4 separate regions of the Homo sapiens genome follow, and regions 1, 2 and 3 are each linked to region 4. Evidence: promoter capture Hi-C in 16 types of primary human blood cells and fetal thymus (Javierre and others, 2016). All regions are on one chromosome and are shown on one strand. The core of a region is centred on a gene start or on the middle of the fragment in contact, and the rest is flanking DNA. Distances in the headings are between cores, read along the strand shown. Region 1 overlaps LPP (LIM domain containing preferred translocation partner in lipoma). Region 2 has its middle 13 kb from the start of TPRG1-AS1. Region 3 overlaps LPP (LIM domain containing preferred translocation partner in lipoma). Region 4 holds the start of FLJ42393 (a long non-coding RNA gene).

The links. The method cuts DNA at HindIII sites, captures the fragments that hold promoters and counts their contacts. A CHiCAGO score of 5 or more calls a contact.
Region 1: a fragment that was not itself captured here is called in contact with the fragment with the promoter of FLJ42393 in region 4 in 1 of 17 cell types (naive B cells); the score reaches 5.1 in naive B cells.
Region 2: a fragment that was not itself captured here is called in contact with the fragment with the promoter of FLJ42393 in region 4 in 1 of 17 cell types (M0 macrophages); the score reaches 5.2 in M0 macrophages.
Region 3: a fragment that was not itself captured here is called in contact with the fragment with the promoter of FLJ42393 in region 4 in 3 of 17 cell types (naive B cells, neutrophils and total B cells); the score reaches 6.0 in naive B cells.

What each region holds. Positions count from the first base shown.
Region 1 is chr3:188,758,541-188,761,432 of GRCh38, reverse strand. LPP (LIM domain containing preferred translocation partner in lipoma) reads right to left here. Exons shown (of 12, transcript NM_001375462.1): 9 at 1,151-1,320. Among named protein-coding and RNA genes, the nearest start is that of MIR28, 71 kb to the right of the region's middle. The HindIII fragment of the contact is 1,402 bases long and covers 815-2,216 here.
Region 2 is chr3:188,958,818-188,961,894 of GRCh38, reverse strand. No RefSeq gene overlaps it. Among named protein-coding and RNA genes, the nearest start is that of TPRG1-AS1, 13 kb to the right of the region's middle. The HindIII fragment of the contact is 1,246 bases long and covers 1,055-2,300 here.
Region 3 is chr3:188,728,055-188,731,304 of GRCh38, reverse strand. All of the region lies in intron 8 of LPP (LIM domain containing preferred translocation partner in lipoma), which reads right to left. Among named protein-coding and RNA genes, the nearest start is that of MIR28, 41 kb to the right of the region's middle. The HindIII fragment of the contact is 2,886 bases long and covers 1-2,781 here.
Region 4 is chr3:188,177,171-188,180,098 of GRCh38, reverse strand. It overlaps FLJ42393 (a long non-coding RNA gene), which reads right to left and starts at 1,556. Exons shown (of 1, transcript NR_024413.1): 1 at 1-1,556. The region is part of intron 1 of LPP (LIM domain containing preferred translocation partner in lipoma); the gene reads right to left. RefSeq lists an enhancer at 180-792. The HindIII fragment of the contact is 11,595 bases long and covers 1-2,928 here.

The sequences.
Region 1 (2,892 bases), core at 266-2,765, 580 kb before region 4:
GAAAGAAAACGAAATAAAATTGAACCTAAGACAGATGCAAAGCCATATTTAATCCTACGAAGCCTTAATCTTGATGAACTTTCAGATCTGTGCTACAGACCCCAAGGTTACAATGGGTTAGAGCTGCCAAGTTATAGGAAAATACCAACCAGGCCAAAAACGTCTTCAATAAATGTGAACCTTGTAAAGCCAAGTATGACTCCCAATACCTTGGTAAAGAAACCAAGGTGTCTTTTATGTTGAAATCTCTGGGCACTGAGGGACAAACCATGACTGTTTTGTGGGTTTACATAACAAACAAACAAAAAACACTACTTTTCCCATCAACATGTGTTAAACAAAGATTAAAATCATGCTGAAGGATAGCAAAGAAATTTACAATAGATGAAAAAAGTCTGTGTTCATTCATCAAATTACTCTACCAGAGAATAGTTTAACAGGTAGATTAAGTAAGTAGCATTGTAAAACGCTAAGGTAACATGACTGAGAATTTTTTAGTTACCCAGGTATATTATTAAAATATAGTTTTTGTGTTCTGTAATAAAAGAAAACAATGATTAGCTCAGTCAGCATTACTGTTCATTTCTCTTTAAGGTGCTTTATAATAAACAGTTCCCCTGTTTGCATCATTAAAAACCTGTTGGATAAGAGGGGGAAGAAACATTTTGGTAGATAAAAATGGACTCAAAGGGCCCAGTATTCTGGAAGAGGACTGACAAGTCCAGAGATTCTGTAAAGTTTCCTTGAAACTACTGGGCACTTCAAATGTAGGGTGAGATCTTATAAGAGGTGTGACTCAGCTACTTGGAAAGCTTTCTGATGCTTTAAGAAAGAAAATTTTAGCTTGTACATACATGCTAGAAAGCCACAGGCTGATGATCTTCCCAGCAGACCACTAACTGAATGGCAGTCCCATGCTAATACACCTTTCTGACTGCTTATGAATGGGGGATGTGTAGAAAAAAATTACAATATGCTAATTTACATGCGCGCACGCACACACACACACACACACACACACACCCCACACACACATTTTGAAGTCTAGGAAGAAGCAAAGATCTGATGGCTATATTCTATCTAGAGTGACTGGCATTCAGCCACAGAAGACATCTTTGCAAAGTGCTTGAGGAACAAATCTGGAACTTACAATGTAGCAGGGCTCGCAGTATGCTTTCTTTTCCACAGCATAGAATGGCTGCCCTCGGAGCTTGTTGTTGCAGATGATGCAGGTAAAACAATCCACGTGGAAGACCTGATCCATGGCAGTGCATCCTGTACCTTCCCCAACTACGTTTTCTCCACAGCGAGCACAGCGGCCTGGAAAAAAAAGGGTTTGATAAGAACACACCAAGGAGTACTTCAGTCCTGCTAAAGCCAAAGTGGAGGAGAAAGCAGGTTCATAACGTCAGCAGCAATAGAACCACCACTCCTGCCGTCATTACCCCAGTACTATTACCCCATTACCCCAGCAAGATCACCAGTACAGCCACCCCTATCCTCTGCAAGATTGGCATGGAGGGGATTTTACATTAATCGGTTGAGGGGATTGAGTCTCATAGTCTAAGTTCTTGCAGAAAGGAACAGTAGAACCCGGTCGCTGGCTTTGAGGTCAGTGCTCTGACTCTCATCTCACATGCAAGTATAAAAGGAACATGACTCAGGATGTTTGGAGTGGAAGGCAAAATCTATAAAACAGTACAGAAGAGTCTTTCTTCTTGGAGATTCTACACATCCAGTTAGAATGTAAGATAATTGGGTCCAAACTCAAATTTTAGTTCCTTTTACAAAAGCCCTGATTGTAAAACCTCTGCAGCCAGCTCTCAGTGACAGGCAGATCCCAAGGCAGTCCTTTAATTTCTAGATCGCTTTGATGGCTAAAAGGTTCTTTCTCCTACTGAGCCATAGTGCTTCCTCATTCTAACTGCTTACCCCATGGTTCTAGTTCTGTCTTCTGAGACCTTATCTCTCTCTTGGACTTGACATCCTTTAATACATCAAAATTCAGTAAGCATTGCTTCCAAGTCTGTTATTCCTTTGAACATCCACACATCCTGCAATAGTTTCATATACTGTAGGGTTTTGAGTCTTTCAGGGCCACGGTTCTCGTTGTTCATGCAGTATTCTGCGAAGCTCCAGCATTCTTAAATTGATTAATGTGGCATCTGGCCTACATATGGACATCAGGTTTCAGTTTTTAAAATTTGCAGTAAGCTTTAAATAATAACAATAAAATATAAATTCAGACAAATAGTTATGTCAGTGAGAGGCATTATGCTGGTTGCCATCCATATCTCTATGTGGCTCCATCATGGGAATCTTGAGCTAGACGTCACGTCCACATCTAGTTTCCCTTCTTAGTCTTTGTTTCTACTAAGTTAAAAAAAATTCTATCTAATAATTATAGAACACTGGGAATGTTAGCCAGAAGCTGTAGGCTTTGATAGATAAGGTATAGCAAATGTAGTGCTTCACATATGTCAGACTTTTTCTAGGGGCTTTAGATATATTAACTCATTTCATATTCACAACAGTCTATATGCAGGTACTGTTATTATGCCTATTTCACAGATGAGGAAACTGAGTCACACAAATGGTTAACTAAATTCCAGCCTAAGCAGTCTAACTTCAGCATCTGTGCTCTTAAACACTATGCTATATTACCTATTCCCAGTTCTGTGCATCAGGATTAACATGGATCTGATGTTAGGGAGCATTATGGAGAGACTTCTCACTGAAGACGGCTTTCAGCACTCCATCACATTGGATTGACAGCCATTTCACACTCAAACATGGGAGGGCTAGATGTTTCAACGTGAGAGAAAAAAAGGTAAATTTATTTCTAATCCTCTCCAGTTGTATTTGGCCCTGAAAAGTATTTCTTTATATCCT
Region 2 (3,077 bases), core at 428-2,927, 780 kb before region 4:
GAAAGAAAAGAGCTTTTCTTTTTTTTTCCCCCAAAAGAGGAAAGGAAGAAGGGAGGGAGAAAAAAGAAATGGAAGGTGGAAGGGAGAGAAAGAAAGAAGGAGAGAGAGGAGAGGGGAAGAAAGAAAGGAAGGAAGGATGGAAGGAAGGGAGGGAGAAGGGAAGCAGGAGGAAACAGAACAAGGAAGGAAAGGAACTTTATTTTCCCAAAGATAATCCTATATGAGATAGTAATGATTTCTCCTACCTCTCCACATATATGGAGAATCCATATTTATTTCAGTATCTCGATTAAGTGGCTTATTTGGATCTAATAAGACATTTATTGACTCTTGGTTTTCTATCAATTTTGAAAAGGCCTCTAGAAGATTTAATAAAGTATAGAAAAAATAAATAAGTGTACAGGTAATAAACTCTAGATTACATAAGCAAACATTATTTAATTACATTCCCATTAATATACTAACTCTGTAATGAATTTTTGAGCCATTTAATTATCAATTTGACAAGATAATCTAGGAGTAGTTAATGATTATACCAGTAAATTGTTTAAAAAAATCACTGACAATTATTAAGTCTCATAACAGACATCAAATTAACTTGCTAGAGCTGTCTGGTTAAATAGACAGCAGTTAATTATGAGGTATTTACACATGCCTCAAATTTTAATATGCAAGCCTTTTTAATAGTGTAACGTCAAAGGTGTTGTGTAAGGGAGCAGTTTACCCATGGGGAATACTCAAATTCCATGCAGTGTGGCCACTAAACAAGCAAGAGCATGATCTTAGATGCTTTGGCTGGGTTTTCCCGGTTTTCATCCTGGAACAGGAATATAGAGCTCCCTAAAAGAGGAAAATGACTGTCATACACAGTCAGGCTTGTGAGCCATTTGACTAGGGGATGTGGTCAGATTACAAAGGTTTAGGGTAACATTTGCCCCCTTACATGCACTAACGATGGGTCGGACCTGTGCAAGATGTTGTATATAAACTGCCTCCTTTAATAATCAAAAAATAGAAAATCCCACATCAATAGGCAGATTTTCCTCGAAAAGCTTAGTAAGAGAGGGAGAACGAAGAATCATATATACCAGGCCACTGAAATGGCTTCATCTTAGCTTAAAATGGCAGCCGGAGGCTGTCAGCCACTCCGGCTGGAACTAGACAGAGGGCAATGGTCTCACTGTTGAAGACATAAGCCCAGTCTAAGATCCTCTGCTTTTCAGGAGTCCAGAGTACCTATGTTTCAACTTGTCCTCTACCCACACTCTGTGGTTCCAGGAGACCCTGTCTGACCCCACGAATGGGTCAGTTTTCATTCAATGAGCAGTAGAGAGGAGAAACTTGATAAAGCACGCTGACCCTGATCCTCACAGTTCCAGATTTGAAGTTCTTTCTTGAAACTGCCTTCTCCACTGCATATTTCACCATCATTTTTATATGTGATTTATGCTTCCCCATCAAATTGCAAGTTTCTTGGGTCCTACTCCTCCCTCACAATGCCAAACACAGTGGCTATTGATGCAAACTAAACATTCAAAAAAATATTTCTTGAGCTGAAATGAATTAAACTGAAATGAATTGGAGTGAATCAGATTGCCGTGGATGGGACTGAACTAAACTGAATGGGACCTTGTAAGAAAGAAGAACAGATTCTAGAATTTATATTTGACTTTGGTTTCTCTTAGGCCAAAGCTGTTTCAGTGATAATAAGGCAGCATGAGGGCTGTGCATGGATTCTGTGGCCAGAATGTCTAGGTTCAAACCTCAGCTCCACCACTCACAACTTCTGTGATGTTGGATAAGTTACTCAACATTCCTGTGCCTCCCTGAGTAAAGCAACAATAATGATAGTACCTGCCTCATAGAATTGCTATAAGGAATCCATTCAATGAATTAATTGTTATAAATCCCTTGGAATAATGCCTAGCACATAAAACATACAATATAACTTTTTTAATAAAATAATTTTTAAAAATCACTACTTTGAATTGCATTGCATTTTACATGTGGCAACTCATATTTCATCCGTATAAGAAGAATGATTTTCATTTATCCAATAAGAAAACTGAGGCTCATAAAAACAAATGCAGAATAAGAACTCGAGCAGGACATACACTGTTGTAGAAGTTGAGCCCAGTTCTGTCTTATTTAAGGCATGCTTTCAGTTCAGTAGGCACCCTTTCCTTATGATATCTCTGGCCATTTTAACAGGTAGTTCTGACTATAGTGTATGCTATTGGTCACCTGATAGACAAGAGTTATGTAAAGTCACAGTATCCTCAGTATTATCGGAATAAGCTTTCTCTTACCCGGTGCTCACGAAAGCAAAGGATTTTAGTCTGGGTAAAGATGAAAGATCTATGACATAGTGTGACAGAAAAAGCCCCAGTAAGGAAGTTGAAAAAAGTGAATTCTGGCCCTGGCTCAACCACTGGCTTCTGTGATATCAATAACTAACATGTACTGAGAGCTTACTCTGTGCCATCTACTGCATTTATATCATTTAAACCTCACCACAAAACTCAGGCACAGATACTTTTATTATGCCACTTTTCAGGTAAGGAAACTGAGGTTTAGCAAAGACAAGTAACTTATTCAAGATCAAATTGCTTTTAAGTGGTATAATTCATCTTAATGATCTCAAAGGTACTTTCCAACCCAGTCCACCTATAATTGAGTGAGCTCTTGCCTAATCCTCACTCCTCTAGAGGGGTGATCCTGTGGTTCTAGCCAACTTTAAGTCAAATCCCAGGCACCTCAAGGCCTCCCAGGATGCCAGTGTTGAAAAACTGGTGAATTATTGCATAATGTGGGGTTTTACAATCATCGAAAGAATAAAACAGAAAAGAAAAATTAGCAAAAGGTAAAGCCTTAAATCTTTCCCCGTTCATACATTTCATACCTTTATTTACAAAGTTGGTAATTGTGAAGTTCATTCCATTTTGTATTTTTCTTTCTTCACTTAAAATACTATCATGAACAATTTTCCTTATTGATAATAGTTATATTTTAGAATTACAGAATTTGACTATGAAATTTTCAAGGTTCATTTCTAATTCCAAAAACAAAGTCTGGCC
Region 3 (3,250 bases), core at 89-2,588, 550 kb before region 4:
GTGGAGTGAAATCTCAAACTTTCCTTTACCCCAAGATTAGAATCTATGCAAAGGGTAGGGCCTCTTAAAAAATAGACTTATTTAGGTCCCCGCCATGCATGTTCCCAGGACCAGGATTGTTATGTCTAGAAGATCACTGAAAATGTATCAGAAGAGCACTGTCACAGGCAGCGTAATGCCTCCCAAAGAGGACCATGTCCAAATGCTTGAAACCTATGAACATGCTACTGTATATGACAAAACGGACTTTGCAGATAGGATTAAGTTAAGAGTTTTGAGATAGGAAGAGTATGTGAGGTTATTCAGGTGGGTCATATCTAATCAAGTAGGTCCTTACCAATTGGAGAACTTTTCCCAGCTGGGGCCAGACACAGAATGACTATGAAAAAAATGGTCAGAGGTGCTATGTTACAGGCTTTGAGGATGGAAAAAGAGGGCCACAAGTCAAGGAATGTGGTCAGTTTTTAGAAGTCAGAAAAAGCAAGGGGGATTCTCCCCTAGAAAGAACCTTCAGAGACAAATGCAGCTTTGCTAACATGATGGTTTTAGCCAGATGAGACTCATGTTGAACATCTAACCTACAGAACTGTCAGATCACAGATTGTGTTGTTTTAAGGCCTAAGTTTAGAGGTATCATAAACACTTATTGACACAACCCCTTTTAGTTGATAAAATTTCTCCTCCTATCATGTCGATCCAGTTTGAGAATGACAAAGGGAAGAAAGGGCTTAATGTATTTGAACAAAGGTTAAATATGATAAATTCACTCATACTTCCTTACCAGATTCCCAGAATATTTTCCTATTAGTGTTTCTCCACTTACAAGTGAGTACCAAGATATCTCCAACCTTGGGATAATTCACTCAATTCATAACTACCAAACACTGTAAATACGTGGTACAAAAAGGAAATAAGGTTTCCAGAGTTAATGGAGAAAAGTGTTAGCCTGGGCACTGGCACTTGGTGGCTGTGGCTTACACTCCTGTTTCAATCTGGGCACCATTTGCTTCATCAAAATAAATAAATAATGAAGTCAGAATTAGGAGATGATTTCCAAGGTCCTTTCCATGGTAAACACATACAACCTCTTAAGTAAGCATCAGGATCTTGAAATATTTTCTCCTTGAAGGTGGGACCAGCACAAACAATGCACATATGCACATACGCACAATGATTTTCTAAAGATCTACTAATTTCTTAGAAAGTTGAAAGTAATCTTTAAATCTATATGTGTGTATATATGTACTTTTAAAACATCATGGCCATTTTTTAGTTGAATCTGGTGGATTATTCACATAATAGTATTCTTTTTTTGGAGACAGGGTCTGGCTCTGTTGCCCAAGCTGGAGTGCAGTGGCATGGTCACAGCTCACTGCAGCCACCAAAAATTCCTGAACTTAAGTGATCCTCCTCCCACCTCCACGTCCAGATTAGCTGGAACCACAGCATATGCCATCATGCCCATCCATTTTTTTTTTTTTTCACTTTTTGTACAGACAGGGTCTTACTATGTTGCCCAGGCTGGTCTTGAACTCCCAGGGCTCAAGCAATCCTCCCACCTTGGCCTCCCAAAGGGCTGGGATTATAAGCGTGAGCCACTGTGCCTGGCCACATAGTGTTCTTACAGTATTGCTGATGTGTGAAAATCTAAACACACACAAAACACACCAAAAATATAGCTGGCTTGATTTGCATTTCTGCATACCTAGGCACTTCCTGTTTTGAACTGAAAGAGAACAAAAGAGAGCAATATCATGTTTCTTATCCCACAAGCACTTTAAATCTATTCCCATTAAATTTCCAGCCCCATTATTCCCTATTAAGTGGCTTTATAAGGTTATCCAAGTGGTATACAGCAGTAGAAATGGTTATCCCTTCAGTTTTACATAAATCACTAATCTGATGTTACCCATTGTTTGACAATAGTCAACAATTTCCCATTTTGCACAGGTAAACATCCAAAACATCCTTCCTATGACTATCACACAAGATCTTTTATCACTGAACTCCAGACTCTCTATCCTTCCTTGTCCCACTACTTGTCCCTCAACTCAATGTGGCTTCAGCCACAGAGAAGTTCTGTTAGGAAGTAACATCTTCCTGTTCCCAGAATACCATGTTTTCCTACCTCTATACCTTTGTACATGCTGTTTCTTCTGTATCTAACATCTTTCTTCTCTTTCTCTACTTGGAAACATTTTATTCCTTCATGAAGACATCAGATATCACCTCTTAATCTCCCTAGGGAGGTTTTTCCTAGAGCTCTCAAACATTCCCTCTCATAATCATAGGTACAGAGCTCCTTTATAACATTTATCACATGGGAAAAGGGATTATCATATATTTTTTATTCTCTAACCTATAATGGTCTATGGACTTCTTGGGGGCAGAGACCTCTAAATTTGTTCATGGTACATTTTTTTTTTTTTCAGAAAGCACTTATAGTAATTCTAATTCACCCCACCTAAGACAGAGATGGACATATCATAGGCTCTGCATAAATATTTACTTAAACCAAATAACCTTATAATCTACTGTGTCATTAGTAGACATACCAACTCACTAGAGAAGGGAGATCACATAAAATCTGGAAGATAATTTGCTTGCTGGGTTTCACCATCTCTGTTATTTGTTCAGTTATCAAAGGAACAGAAATTGAAAACAGACACAAAAAAGCTATGCAACCCACAAATCTACTATGAAAATGTGTATTCCATATTGATGAGCTGTTTCTTAACTAAACGAAGTGAATAGGTATAGATCTGCATAATATAATAAGCTTATTATCTCTTGGTCAACTGGTTTGTTGTAGGATCCCAGGCAAATTAATCACTCTCTTCTTTTGTATTACTCCAGAACCATCAAATAACATAGTGCATTCTACAAAGGCAGTTTTAAGGAATAAACAAGAAAATCACTTAACATTATAAGTCAAAAGACGCAGGTTCTTTTGCAGATAGTTATAAGTGACATTTTAAAAATCTTTAGAAAGTGATTGTCACTCTTCATTCTGTTTTCATGTTTGTGATGTAAGATTGGACTAGATCAGTAATTGTCAACTTTTTTTGTTATCTCATCACACGTGGGGTATGGCACACTCCATCAGCTAAATTTTCTCCGAGTAATAATATTTTCTCAGTGGATCTAGGGTTATGTCAGTAGATCAGAGTTTCATTGTAAATACAAGGTAGATGTGTGTGGGTGTGTAGTTTTGAATGTGATAAAGCTCCCCCAGGTGATTCTGAGTCTT
Region 4 (2,928 bases), core at 307-2,806:
ACACTCATTGCCATTTACAAAATGGTTCTCCTTAATTTTCTTCAAACAAGGCTATGCATATATTGGTGTCTGGAAATGAAATTAATTAGTAAATCAAATCAATACATTCTTATTGGCCAAGCATCACTCACGATCCCTTCTGACTTCATCCTAAAAGTGGACCCAACCAACAACCCCCTATGTTGCTTCACAAGTAATTTCTGACCAGTCAGGCACAGATGCCATGCAAAAGACAAGGCCTCAAGGTGCCATTATCTGTCAAATGGACCCAAGGCAGGATGAGGCTGAATGAAAGAGGAGGAAGAGGAAGAAAGGCTCACTCAGGGGGAGAGGGGAAGCTGCTGCAAGCTAACTACTGCTCTCACTGACTCAGGATGCCCATTTCTCACAACCAGAGGCCACAGTTTTGGAGCAGACAAGAGACTGCAGAGAGGCTTGCTGAAGCTCACTCCACGGCTGGATTCCTGGCAGGATGAGAAATGGAGTTCTAGTAAACTAGAAGGAATGCTGCTGGCAGGAGACAGACCTCTCGAGAGGGCTTTAAATGGAAATATGAGAGCACGAGAGGAACTCTAAGTGTAGAAAATGCACTGGGCAAACAAGCGTGTCGCAGATGTGGGCGCCCCAGAAGGGAAGGAGCTCTGGAGTCACAGGGGACCCAAAGGACAGAATGTCAGGTGGCCCTCCAAGCCCGCAGGTGGCAATGGGAACAAGGCGGGAAATGAACTGGAGAGCTGAAGGCGGGGGCCTAGGAGGAGGCCGCAGAGCTGTGATGAAGGGCTGCTCATCAGAGGCACATGCACGGGTCAGATAAAGAAGCTCCGCTGCGAAGACAGGGGGCAATGCAAGGCCACAGCCGAAGATTCCATGCATGCTCTTCACGGTGGCAAATTCAAAAGCCTTGGAGGGCAGCATGCTTCTATGATAATAGGGAATGGGGGCCGGGGGGAATATGTAGACCCCATATCAATGCTCTCAAAACCTCTCTCTCTCTCTCTCTCTCTGTCTCTCTCCCTCCCTCTCTCTTGCTCACTCTCTCTCTCTCTCTCTCTCTCTCTCTGTCTCTCTCCCTCCCTCTCTCTTGCTCACTCTCTCTCTCTCTCTTTGTCGTGCTCTCTCTCTCCCTCTCTCTCCCACTCCCCACCTCTGGCCTAATATACCTGCATGTCCACAGAGGCACCAATCTGCAATGATGATGGACTCTCTCACCCACCCTGCTACTAGGAAACTTCTTCCATATATCATAAACAGAGACCAGTATTACAATACTTCACCCACTGCGCCAATTTGGCTTTCATGTCTGTTTCCTGTGTCGATCACAACATCCTAGACAGCCCAAACAAGGCTTTATTCACCTCTAGTCCCCGGTCCCTGGAACAGCAGACAATAAATAAGGAATCAACAAGTGTCCTTCACTGCCGCACACATTGGCTGTGAATATCCTTTTGCAAAGTGCAGAACATCTGAAAGATTCTCACATTGACTAAACAACAGTGTGACCTGAAGTTAAGAGAACCATAAAGGTAAATGATTGCTAGAAGTTTAATTCCAAACAAGGAAGAGCAATTTGATGCAATGGGCAGAAGACAAACATTGGGAGAATGAGAACGTATCCTCTTGAGTTGTGATGTGAACAAACAGAGATTCCAAGATCTTGCAAAAGCGAACAGTCAGCAACCAGCATGGTGCTTAGAGTAGTCCCTGGGCAACAGAAAAAAAACAGATAAATGAAGAAACATGGACAATCACCCTACCTGGGTCTCAGCGTGAGGAGGAGAACTAGGACTTCCAGACAGAAAAGAGGAGAAGCATGAGGAGGGGGCTGGGAAAGACATTTCCCTGTGGGCATGTGGTGCCCTCCACTGGGGCCAGAATTCCCAACCTGCCTCACTCTCCCCATCTGTGAAATTGGCTGATTCCCTGAGGTCCCTCCCAGCACTGACTATCAAGTGACAGAGAACCTAGAAACTCCAGGAGCTCCATCAGAGCCCTGACTACCTGTCCAAGTGAGACTGTGGGAGCCTCACTCTTCTCACACCTGTAAACTGAGGGTGCTGCAGTGTCAGCTATATCAACACTCCCAAGTATGCCTTTGCCAAAACCTCTATGGATGAGAAAGGAAAAGAGCATGTATGGAATTGGCCAGGGCTTAGAACCATCTTGAACATGACACACTTATGCACATCGTCACATCTTCCCAGCATCCCTGTCCCACCTCGGGCAGCAACTGTCAAAGTTCTGCCCCCAGGATGACCTCCCAGAGTCCTCAGGGCAGCTCCATCTCTCCAGCCCTCATTCCTTTCCAGCTCTTTGGTGTTTCCCTGTAATAAAAACACTGTGCACTTCTCTTTTCATGTTTTAACCATGAAGTGCCTTCCTCCAGACAAGTACTTTAATCCTTACTCCAGTCAGAATAGGTAACATCAGCATAATTACCATCATTACTCCCATTTTACAGAGGAGAGGGCTGAGGCTCACGTAAGACCTAATCTTCATCTTCCCAGGGATCCTCCAACTCCTAGCCAGGCCTCTCCCAGCTCCTAAATCAATCATGAAAGACTACAGCAATCACATCCAGTACTTTTCTGATCTAGTGTCTTTGCCGCTAAATAAAGGCAGAAATCAAGGTGGCAGGATCAATCCTGTATTCAAATCACTGTACTGTCTGCCACCCTCCTATGCTGGTCCAGGGAGCAGAACTGAAAATGTGCCTCAAGGCCCCAATCCAAAACAGATGCCATCACCCTGGACAGATTCTCCAACCATGCTCCAAGACTGGTATCCATCTCACTTCAACCAGCCCTCCTTCCCAGGCCTGGGTCTGTCTACTGGCACAGGGGGACCCTGCCATGAAAATGAGGGCATCTCTACTGGATTGCAGGCGATCCCCTCGCTGGGCTGGCCCACCCATTCAACCATCACTGGACC